Linked DNA regions of Homo sapiens: regions 1 and 2 are each linked to region 3. The links are contacts of gene promoters, found by promoter capture Hi-C in human tissues and cell types (Jung and others, 2019). All regions are on one chromosome and are shown on one strand. Each heading gives the region's core, a stretch centred on a gene start or on the middle of the fragment in contact. The rest is flanking DNA. Distances are from core to core; before and after follow the strand shown.

Region 1 (3,186 bases), core at 370-2,869, 760 kb after region 3:
ATGTCAGTGTGTCAGTGGAAGTATCTGACACTCAGCTGTGCTGTAGGGTGCCTATAGTTATACTTTCCTAATTTCACTGTGCCTATGTTTAACAGCTCTGCTGAGACATGGTGTCCCAAGGATGTGACTTTACTCTGATCCACAGAGGGTACAGCTGGAGGATATTAGGGTGCAGAGCTTGGCCTCCTATCAGCATCTCTAGAGTTTTGGGATAGGTTGCAGCTCCCCACTACCCCTGCCTGCAGGGACTACCATGCCTGTGTCCATGTATCCAGAAGGGCCTAGGGCCTTTGAGAATGCAAGGATAAGCTAAGATACCTTCCAACATTTGGGGAGCCAAGTTGGGTTGCTGCTTTCTACTTTTCTTTGAGACTGGGTCTCGCTCTGTCACCCAGGCTGCAGTGCAGTGGCGCCATCATAGCTCACTGGAACCTTGACCTGGGCTCAAGCCGATCCACCCACCTCAGTCTCCCTAGTAGTGGGTACCACAGGCGTGCGCCACCACGCCTGGCTAATTTTTGTATTTTTTGCAAAGATGAGGTTCTGCCATGTTATCGATGCCACGATCTCCAACTCCTGAGCTCAAGCAATCCGCCCACCTTGGCCTCCCAAAGTGCTGGGATTCCAAGCTTGACTCACTGCACCCAGCCGGTTGCTGCTTCTAATTTGACAAGTAAAAACACTGTAACGGAATTTTAACACCCTTTCCCCGAAAAAGTTGGAGGCACACGATGTGGAGAACAAATTATAGCCCTTGAATTAGTATAAGATCATCTTACTGAAAACCTCGTCCTGTTTTCCTCCACTGGGGCCTCCTGGGGCTGGTCCATCCCGGCTGGTCCTTGGACATCAGCCGTCAGGGCCCGGCACCTCCCCCTTCTGCAGAGCCTTGGAGACAGGTGTCCAAGGACGCTACCATGACCACGGTCCCCAGTGTGGCCAGGAAGCCTAAGACAAGTCGCTTCCCCATTCTGGACTTCGGTCTGTGAAATGCGGACAGTGATACCTACCGCACCGCGTTCCTAGGATTCAGTGGGATGATACCAGGGCCACGCCCGAGAACTGCGCACGTCGCGGTGGTTTCCAGAACATGATTCCAGGGATCGGGTGCTCCGGGATAGTCCCACTGCCAGAGTTTGGCCACGAGCGTGCGCCCCCAGTTTGCAGAGCGAGTTTAGCCCAAGAGCTTTTCACAAATGGTTTCTTTCCCTAAAAGGCCTTTTACCTTTGGTGTCAGCCGCCGCCAGCCATCAGGAATCAGGAATCTAGTTAGCGGTTGCCCTTGTATCCCTGGTCGAGGCCCTGATGTTTGGCCCACGCACAGACGCCGACGCTGCGAAGCCCTCCGCGCTTCTGTTCGCCCGTCCCGTTCGAGCTCCGGCTCCCGGTCACTGGGACCGCCCACGTCTCAGGTGGCACAGCTTGGACGCAGGTCTGTGTCCCCTTCTTCCGCTTCCGGCCTCGGCTCCGCCGGAAGCGCATCTACAGTGGACTGGGCCTGCACTCGAGACGTGGTGGCTGGCGCGTCGGCCGGCGCGGAGGGATGACGCGAGGAGGCAGCGACCAATGGGAAACGGCGTAGACCGGGGCGCCTGCCCCCCCGCCCAGCCCCGCCCCCGCCCGGCGTCGGGCCGTCGGACGGGCTGGAAGGGGCGGCCGCTCGGGCAGGATGGCGGCGGCCGCGGTGGGCGCGGGCCACGGCGCGGGGGGCCCGGGCGCAGCGAGCAGCAGTGGTGGGGCGCGCGAGGGCGCGCGGGTGGCGGCGCTGTGCCTGCTGTGGTACGCGCTGAGCGCGGGCGGCAACGTGGTCAACAAGGTGATCCTGAGCGCCTTCCCGTTCCCGGTGACCGTGTCGCTGTGCCACATCCTGGCTCTGTGCGCTGGGCTCCCGCCGCTGCTGCGCGCCTGGCGCGTGCCCCCCGCGCCGCCCGTCTCGGGCCCCGGACCCAGTCCGCATCCGTCGTCCGGCCCGCTGCTGCCGCCGCGCTTCTACCCGCGCTACGTGCTACCGCTCGCCTTCGGCAAGTACTTCGCGTCCGTGTCAGCGCACGTCAGCATCTGGAAGGTGCCCGTGTCCTATGCACACACCGGTAGGTTCCGCGCCCGGCCTCGGGGGCGGCGGCCGGGCCCGCCGCTTCGGGTTTGGGCGCATGGATAGGAGTGCGCCGCCCGGGGCGCGTCCCGCCGGACTGAGAAGTCAGCAGAGGGGCTGCCAAGGGTTTGGTAGGGGAGGGACACGCACGGGGTTCTCAGGGAGAAGAGGAGCTGAGAAGAGAGCTGAGAGGTAAGCAGGACAGACCACAACAGCCGTGGCAGGAGGAAGCCCTACCGAAAGAGAAGGGGCGAAGAGGTGTGAGGGGCTGCCAGGCCCTCCCATCCCGCCGTGGAGGTGGAACAGGTTGGGCCCTGAAATTCAGGCAGCCCCCTGAGTGCCCATCCCTCTCTTTGCAGTCAAGGCCACCATGCCCATCTGGGTGGTCCTCCTGTCCCGGATCATTATGAAGGAGAAGCAGAGCACCAAGGTAACCCCGGGCAGGGACTCTGGGCAGATGGGAGCTCCAGGGGGTTCCTCCCTGTTGCCAACTGGTGACGTGGTCAGGATCCTGGTCTGCAGGCTGCCTGGCTTCCCGTCAAATAGGGAAGTCAGTGTAGAGGTCTCCAGTGGCCTTTTACTACTCAAGTTCTAGAATCACCCTGTGAGCAGTGGTGTGTGGAGTATGTGTCCCTCTGTGATCTCTGCTGTGTGGTCTTAGGAACACTGTTGTCCCTTTCAGATCCAATTTTCCTCCCCGTTTTGATTCCCTACCTGGGTTTGCTGGTAGGTGATGGGTTGGTCACATCTTGGCCATACACCCCATGTGTGGCCTTTCCAGTGGGACTAGGGATGGATGGATCAGAACGCTGTCGGTTAGGTGTTCACTTTTTTTTTTTTTTTTTTGAGACGGAGTTTTACTCTTGCCCAGCCTGAAGTCCAGTGACACAATCTCAGCTCACTGCAACCTCCGCCTCCCAGGTTCAAGCAGTTCTCCTGCCTCAGCCTCTCAAGTAGTTGGGACTACAGACGTGCACTACCACACCTGGCTAATTTTTTTGTATTTTTAATAGAGACAGGGTTTCACCATGTTGCCAGGCTGGTCTCAAACTCCTGACCTCAAGTGATCCGTCCGCCTCAGCCTCCCAAAGTGC
Region 2 (3,234 bases), core at 375-2,874, 620 kb before region 3:
CTCGACCTCTTGGGCTCAAGTGATCCCCCCATCTCAGCCTCCAGAGTAGCTGGGACCACACACATGCACCACCCCACTGGTTAATTTAAAAAAAAAAAAATTGTAGAGATGGGTTCTTGCTACATTGCCCAGGCTGGTCTCAAGCTCCTGAGCTCAAGTGATCCTCCTGTCTTGGCCTCCCAAAGTTCTGGGATCACAGGCATCAGCCACTGTATCCAGCACAAAACACTTAAGCTTAATTGATGCCCCATGAAATTCCACAAGGGCTGACCTGGGCTGGCCTTTGTCCTTATTGCATCCCAGCATCCAGCCTAGGGCCTGGCAGACAGTAGCTAGCTTGCTCAGTGTTTGTTGATTGACTAAATGACCACCACCTCTGTTTTCTCCACACCCCCATGGGCAGCTTAGTGCTGACCCTGGATGTCAGTCAGTGTTCACCAAGGAGGCCTGGCTCAGTGGCTCACGCCTGCAATCCCAGCACTTTGGGAGGCCAAGACAGGTGGATCACCTGAGGTCAGGAGTTCGAGACCAGCCCGGCCAACATGGGGAAACCCCATCTCTACTGAAAACACAAAAATTAGCTGTGCGTGGTGACGCATGCCTGTAATCCCAGCTACTTGGGAGGCTGAAGCAGGAGAATCGCTTGAACCCGGTGGGGTGGAGGGTGGAGGTTGCAGTGAGCCAAGATCATGCCACTGCGCTCCAGCCTGGGCGACAGAGTCAGACTCTGTCTCAAAACAAACAAACAAAACAAAACAAAACAAAACTAAAAAAAAAAAGTTCACTGGAGAAAGGAGCACAGGAGCTGCCTTCCACAGAGCTGGCCTACCCTGGGGGCTGTCTCCAGCGAGACCACGAGAGCCGGGAAGTAGAGGCTGTGTGTGGGGGGCGGGGGCGGGAGTGGTGGGACAGAGCTCTTCCAACCTGGCTCAACACCCCACTTCTAGGTCATCTGGCCTCTCTGAATAGTTTCCCCAACTCCAGTGATCAAAGAAAGTGGACAGTAACTCCCCGGAGGCTCTAGAAAGCATAGTCCTTGCTATCATCATCATGATATATATGATATAATAATAATTATATTATTATTTTTTTTCTTTCTTTCTTTTTTTTTTTTTTTTTGGAGATGGAGTTTCACTCTTGTTGCCCAGGCTGGAGTGCAATGGCACAATCTCGGCTCACTGCAACTTCCGCCTCCTGGGTTCAAGTGATTCTCCTGCCTTAGCCTCCCAAGTAGCTGGGATTACAGGCATGCAGCACCATGCCTGGCTAATTTTGTATTTTTAGTAGAGATGGGGGTTTCACCCTGTTGGCCAGGCTGGTCTCGAACTCCTGACCTCAGGTGATCTGCCTGCCTTGGCCTCCCAAAGTGCTGGGATTACAAGCGTAAGCCACCACGTCTGGCCTTTTTTCTTTTTTTTTTTTTTAATTAAAGAGATGGGGGTCTCGCTCTGTCGCCTAGGCTGGAGTGCAGTGGCCATTCACAAGCGTGATCATAGCTCACTGCAGCCTCGAACTCCTGGACTCGATACTCCCACCTTAGCCTTCCGAGTAGCTAGGACCACAGGTGCACGCCACTGTACCCAGCTTGTTATTATTTCAAAAGCTGGCACTTTTTCCTCAGGTCACCTTTTTTTTTTTTTTTTTGAAACAGAGCTTTGCTCTGTCGCCCAGGCTGGAGTGCAGTGGCGCGATCTTGGCTCACTGCAACCTCTGCCTCCCGGATTCAAGTGGTCCTCCTGCCTCAGCCTCCCAAGTAGCTAGGATTGCAGGTGCCCACCACCATCCCCGGGCAATTTTTGTATTTTTAGTAGACACGGGGTTTCGCCATGTCGGCCAAACTGGCCTCAAACTCCTGACCTCAAGTGATCCACCTGCCTCAGCCTCCCAAAGTGCTGGGATTACAGGCGTGAGCCACCTAGCCTGCCCAGTTACCAATTTTTCTATCCAACCCCTGAGCCACCCCCACCCCCAAAGGCGACCCAAGTCTGGGATTCACTCACCCTAGGGTGCAGGGGTCTCCTCGCCGAGCCACTGCAAAGGGGCTGTCCCCTTCAGTCCTGCTGGTGACCACTTGACTGGGAGAGAGGGTGGCTGCTGCTGCCTTTCCTGTCCCTTTGAGATCTGTAATGATCAGACAGGGGGTGCGGGGTGGAGGCGGGGACCCAAAAGAGTAGGGTGCAGACAGCTCCCGGACTACAGTGGTCTTTCTTATTTTTTATTTTTTTGAGACAGAGTCTTGCTCTGTCACCCAGGCTGGAGTGTAGTGATGTGATCTCAGCTCACTGCAACTGCCGCCTCCAGGGTTCAAACAATTCTCCTGCCTCAGCCTCCCAAGCATCTGGGATTACAGGTGCCTGCCACCATGCCCGGCTACTTTTTGTATTTTTAGTAGAGATGGGGTTTTGCTGTGTTGGCCAGGCTGGACTTGAACTCCTGGCCAGAGGTGATTCACCTGCTTCAGCCTATTACGTACAATGGTCTTTACAGCAGATCTGCGCTCTGGCTTGGTGTTGCTGAGCTGGGTCATCTCCTAAGCTTTCAGGAAGCTTAAGAACAGTGGCTTTATCACTCCAATGGGGCCCTGGGCTAGCCCCACCTCTTCCATGTCCCCTCCCTAAGGCCACTCCTCCTTTCACTGGGCTCCAGAAGCTAGACACTGAATGCTTTATCTGTCTTTCCCAATGCTGTTCCTGCTCACCCCCTCACATTGCCCCTAGTTCCTTCGCCATGGGGAGATCTAGGTGGGTGACATTCAGGGAGGTGACATTTTGTCACCCAGGCTGGAGTGCAGTCGCATGAACATGGCTCACTGCAGCCTTGACTTCCCGGGCTCAAGCGATCCTCCCACCTTCGGCCCCCAAGTAGCTTGGACTACAAGTGTGCACCACTACACCTGGCTAATTTTTTTAATTTTTTGTAGAGACAGGGTTTCAGTACGTTGCCCAGGCTGGTCTCGAACTCCTGAGCTTGCCTCGCCCTTCCAAAGTGTTGGGATTACAGTTGTGAACCACCTCGCTTGGCAGAGCAGCTGAACTCTTGCTCCCCAGCTCTGAAGCTGCCCTGGGAGCCTGTAGCTCCCTTGGCGTGCTCCCTCCATCTATTTAGTGCTGTCTGCAGAGGGCTTATAGAAGCACATGGTACCCAAGTCCGATCCTGGAGAAGAGGGCAGAAAAGGACACCCCATGGAGGGCAGGGGCAATGCCAGACCCCAGAACAGGACTGAAGGGGAAACCC
Region 3 (3,368 bases), core at 563-3,062:
GAGCGCCTTCGCATGGCGGATTCTCTGGTTCTGGATCAGAGCGGGCGGGCGGCGCACTTGCGTGTTAAGAAAAATCTGTCTGACAGAATAGAGTTCTAATACCCCCTTACCTCGCCCTGCTCAATATTTTTATTTACTTTATTATTTTATTTTATTTTATTTTTGAGACAGGGTCTCACTCTGTCGCCCAGGCTGGAGTGCAGTGGCGCGATCACGGCTCTTGCAACCTCCAACTTTTGGGCTCAAGGGATCCGCCCGCCTCAGCCTCCTGAGTAGCTGGAACCACAGGCGCGAGCCACCATGCCAGTCTAACTTTTCGGTGTTTCTTTTTGTTTGTTGTTTTTGTTTGTTTGTTTTGTTTTCGTTTTTTTGGTGGAGACGGGGATCTCACTACGTTGCCCAAGCTTTTTTTTTTTTTTTTTTTTTTTTTTGAGACGGGGTCTCGCTCTGTCGCCCAGGCTGGAGTTCAGTGGCGCGATCTAGACTCACTGCAACCTCCGCCTCCCAGGTTCAAGCGATTCTCCTGCCTCAGACTCCCAAGTAGCTGGGACTACAGGCGTGCGCCACCATGCCTGGCTAATTTTTTGTATTTTTAATAGAGACAGGGTTTGGCCATGTTGGTCAGGCTGGTCTCGAACTCCTTGCCTCAGGTGATCTACCCGCCTTGGCCTCCCAAAATGCTGGGATTACAGGCGTGAGCCACTGCGCCCGGCCGAGGCTTTAATATTTTAAGTTGTAAAATAGGAACAAATGATGACATATTTATATTTCATCTGCCATTCTCTAGTTGTTACATCTGTAACAAGCTAGTTATTACATCTGTAACAAGCTAGTTGTTACATCTGTAACAAGCGTACAGCAAGCGCCTACTGTGTGCTCGCATTGAGAACCAGACCTGGCCCCTCGTTCCTACCCTCGCTGGGCTTTCAGTCTAACAGACTGAGCTACTCAGAATAGTCAGGGGTTGGCCAAATGCCAGGTAAAACCCAGGTCGCCCAGCTAAATGTGAATTTCAAATAAACAATGAATAATTTTTTAGTACTAGTATGTCCCATGTAGACATAGGACATAGAAACATTTATGTATGTATGTATATATATGTATTTGAGACAGGGTCTCGTTCTGTCGCCCAGGATGCAGTGCAGTGGGTGTGATCTCAGCTCACTGCAGCCTTGACCTCCTGAGCACAAGCGATTCTCCTGCCTCAGCCTCCCAAGTAGCTGGGATTACAGGTGCGCCCCGCCCAGCTAACATTTATTCTTTTATCTGAAATTTACATTTAACTAGACGGACTGTATTTTTATTTGCTAAACTTGACAACTCTATGGGATCCTCTCCGAGGTTACATCCTGAAGGGAGTCGGTGTTAACCGGACGAAGAGTGCATGAGGAGTGTTCTAGGCAGCCAAATGGTGCGTGCAAAGTTCCTAAGCAGGGCTTGCTGTAATTATGTATCACAGCCCTACTGGGGTGGTTGAAGTTATTGTCACCAGGAATCTTCCCCAACCGGCCCGCCCCTCCCACGTCCTCCCTTAGTCAACTTACGCCCATCTCACATTCCAAACAGCGTCTCCAGGGTCCGGAGTTTGCAGATGGGGAAACTGAGGCTCCGAGGCGGGGACCAGAAGAAAGCATGGGTGGGGACAAGTTGGAGAATGCACCATCAGTGCGGGCGGGGACCAGCAGCAGGGAGCGAGGTAGGCGGGCGAGAAGGAAACCCAGAAAACAACACGGGCGGAGACGCGAACCAAAGAACTAGGCGGGCGAACTCAGCTGAGAACCCTAGAGTGACGTGCATCGGGCCGGGAAGGAGAATCGAGGTTCGGCTCGGGCGGGGACGAGAAGCAGCGCTCGGGCGAGCGAGGACCGAGGCCGGCGCGGGCGGGCGCGGCCTTTGTCTCCTCCTCCCGCGCGCTCCGCGGCTGCACCGGCCCCATGAGCCCGCGGCTCCCCGTCGCCCGGGCCGTCCGTAGCCCCTGACCTGACCTGTCCTCGCCATGGCCGAGGCCGCCTCCGGCGCCGGGGGCACGTCCCTGGAGGGCGAGCGTGGCAAGAGGCCCCCGCCGGAGGGCGAGCCTGCAGCCCCGGCGTCCGGAGTTCTGGGTATGTGTGCGGCGGCTGGACCAGACAGGGTTGCAGGTGCCTGGGGAGCCCGCGTCAACTACACGGGGAGGAGGATCAGGGTCAAACGTAACCTGGCGTGGTGTCTGGACGAGGGGCCGGCTCCTCCCGGCACTGCGGCTGCGGCCCGGCGGGCGGGGCTGGGACGGTGCTTCGGGCTGGGGTCCCGGCGCGGAGACGCGGACACGCCCCTCCGAGAGCCCCAGGCTTGGGCTGCGCCCTGCCACCCCCGGGCTGCGGGATCGCGGCGGGCCAGGGATGTGCTTGAGAGAGCCTCTCCGCGAAGAATACAGAATCATACGGTCCTGGGTTCAAATCCCAGCTTGACTGTGTGACCTTGGGCGCGTGACTTAAACGCTCTGGGCCTCAGTTTCCTCACCTGTGAAATGGGGGTAAGAACCGCACCTAGTCCCTGGGGCTGCTGCAAGGACGGCGCTGTCATAATGTGGTGAAGCGCTCAGGGCTGCTAGTGAGCGCCCCATCGATTGTGGTTTTGGAGGCGGAGCTGGGCCTCAAGAATGAGTAAGATTTGTAAGGGAGGATCTGGGGGGAAGGGCATTTCTGGAGGAAGGCCTGGCTGGTACAAGGACGTGGAGGGAGGAAAATAAGCCAAGCCCAGAGCTCCCGGGGCCTTGAATGCCAGGTGGAGTGGTGAGGAGCCCTGGCGGGGGCAGGAGGAGCCAAGACTGGAGGCCGGGTCCGGATCCCAGAGTGGCCTGACCCGGGCCTGCTACGCCGCCCCCTAGATAAGCTTTTCGGAAAGCGGCTCCTGCAGGCTGGTCGCTACCTGGTGTCCCACAAGGCGTGGATGAAGACGGTGCCTACAGAGAACTGCGACGTGCTGATGACCTTCCCAGGTACCCAAGCCCGCCCGCCCGCCCGCCCAGTGCCCAGATGCGGCTCTCCTGAGCTCGGCTTCCCAGAACGGGAATACGTAGGAGGCCTTGGGCCCCCTCGTGGCAGGAGCCATCGGTCCCTGTGCCCCTTGGCAGACACGACCGATGACCACACGCTGCTATGGCTGCTGAACCACATCCGCGTGGGCATTCCCGAGCTCATCGTGCAAGTCCGCCACCACCGCCACACGCGTGCCTACGCCTTCTTTGTCACCGCCACGTATGAGAGGCGAGTCCCCTGTCCCTGGCCTCTCGCTGAGCCTGCCACCCGACTCCCCGCTCTACCAAGTGCCAACCATGCTATCCAGCCGCCCTGCGTTTGTCCCAAAGGCTGCCAGGTGCACCATCCTCA

What was found. The method cuts DNA at HindIII sites, captures the fragments that hold promoters and counts their contacts. A contact is called where the count stands out against the background at its distance.
Region 1: a contact is called between the fragment with the promoter of SLC35E1 here and the fragment with the promoter of ANO8 in region 3, in 1 of the 25 tissues and cell types used here (dorsolateral prefrontal cortex).
Region 2: a fragment that was not itself captured here is called in contact with the fragment with the promoter of ANO8 in region 3 in 1 of the 25 tissues and cell types used here (dorsolateral prefrontal cortex).

What each region holds. Positions count from the first base shown.
Region 1 is chr19:16,570,848-16,574,033 of GRCh38, reverse strand. It overlaps SLC35E1 (solute carrier family 35 member E1), which reads left to right and starts at 1,619. Exons shown (of 6, transcript NM_024881.5): 1 at 1,619-2,090; 2 at 2,452-2,522. The coding sequence starts at 1,670. It overlaps LOC105372295 (a long non-coding RNA gene), which reads right to left and starts at 1,484. Exons shown (of 3, transcript XR_936360.3): 1 at 1,226-1,484. RefSeq lists enhancers at 1,313-1,402, 710-1,584 and silencers at 1,503-1,722, 1,853-1,962, 2,123-2,252. The HindIII fragment of the contact is 29,713 bases long and covers 220-3,186 here.
Region 2 is chr19:17,953,448-17,956,681 of GRCh38, reverse strand. It overlaps a transcript of KCNN1 not described here. Among named protein-coding and RNA genes, the nearest start is that of KCNN1, 12 kb to the left of the region's middle. The HindIII fragment of the contact is 4,437 bases long and covers 1-3,234 here.
Region 3 is chr19:17,333,299-17,336,666 of GRCh38, reverse strand. It overlaps ANO8 (anoctamin 8), which reads left to right and starts at 1,812. Exons shown (of 18, transcript NM_020959.3): 1 at 1,812-2,102; 2 at 2,867-2,977; 3 at 3,113-3,245. The coding sequence starts at 1,997. It also overlaps a transcript of GTPBP3 not described here. RefSeq lists an enhancer at 1-145 and a silencer at 1,870-2,309. The HindIII fragment of the contact is 8,300 bases long and covers 1-3,368 here.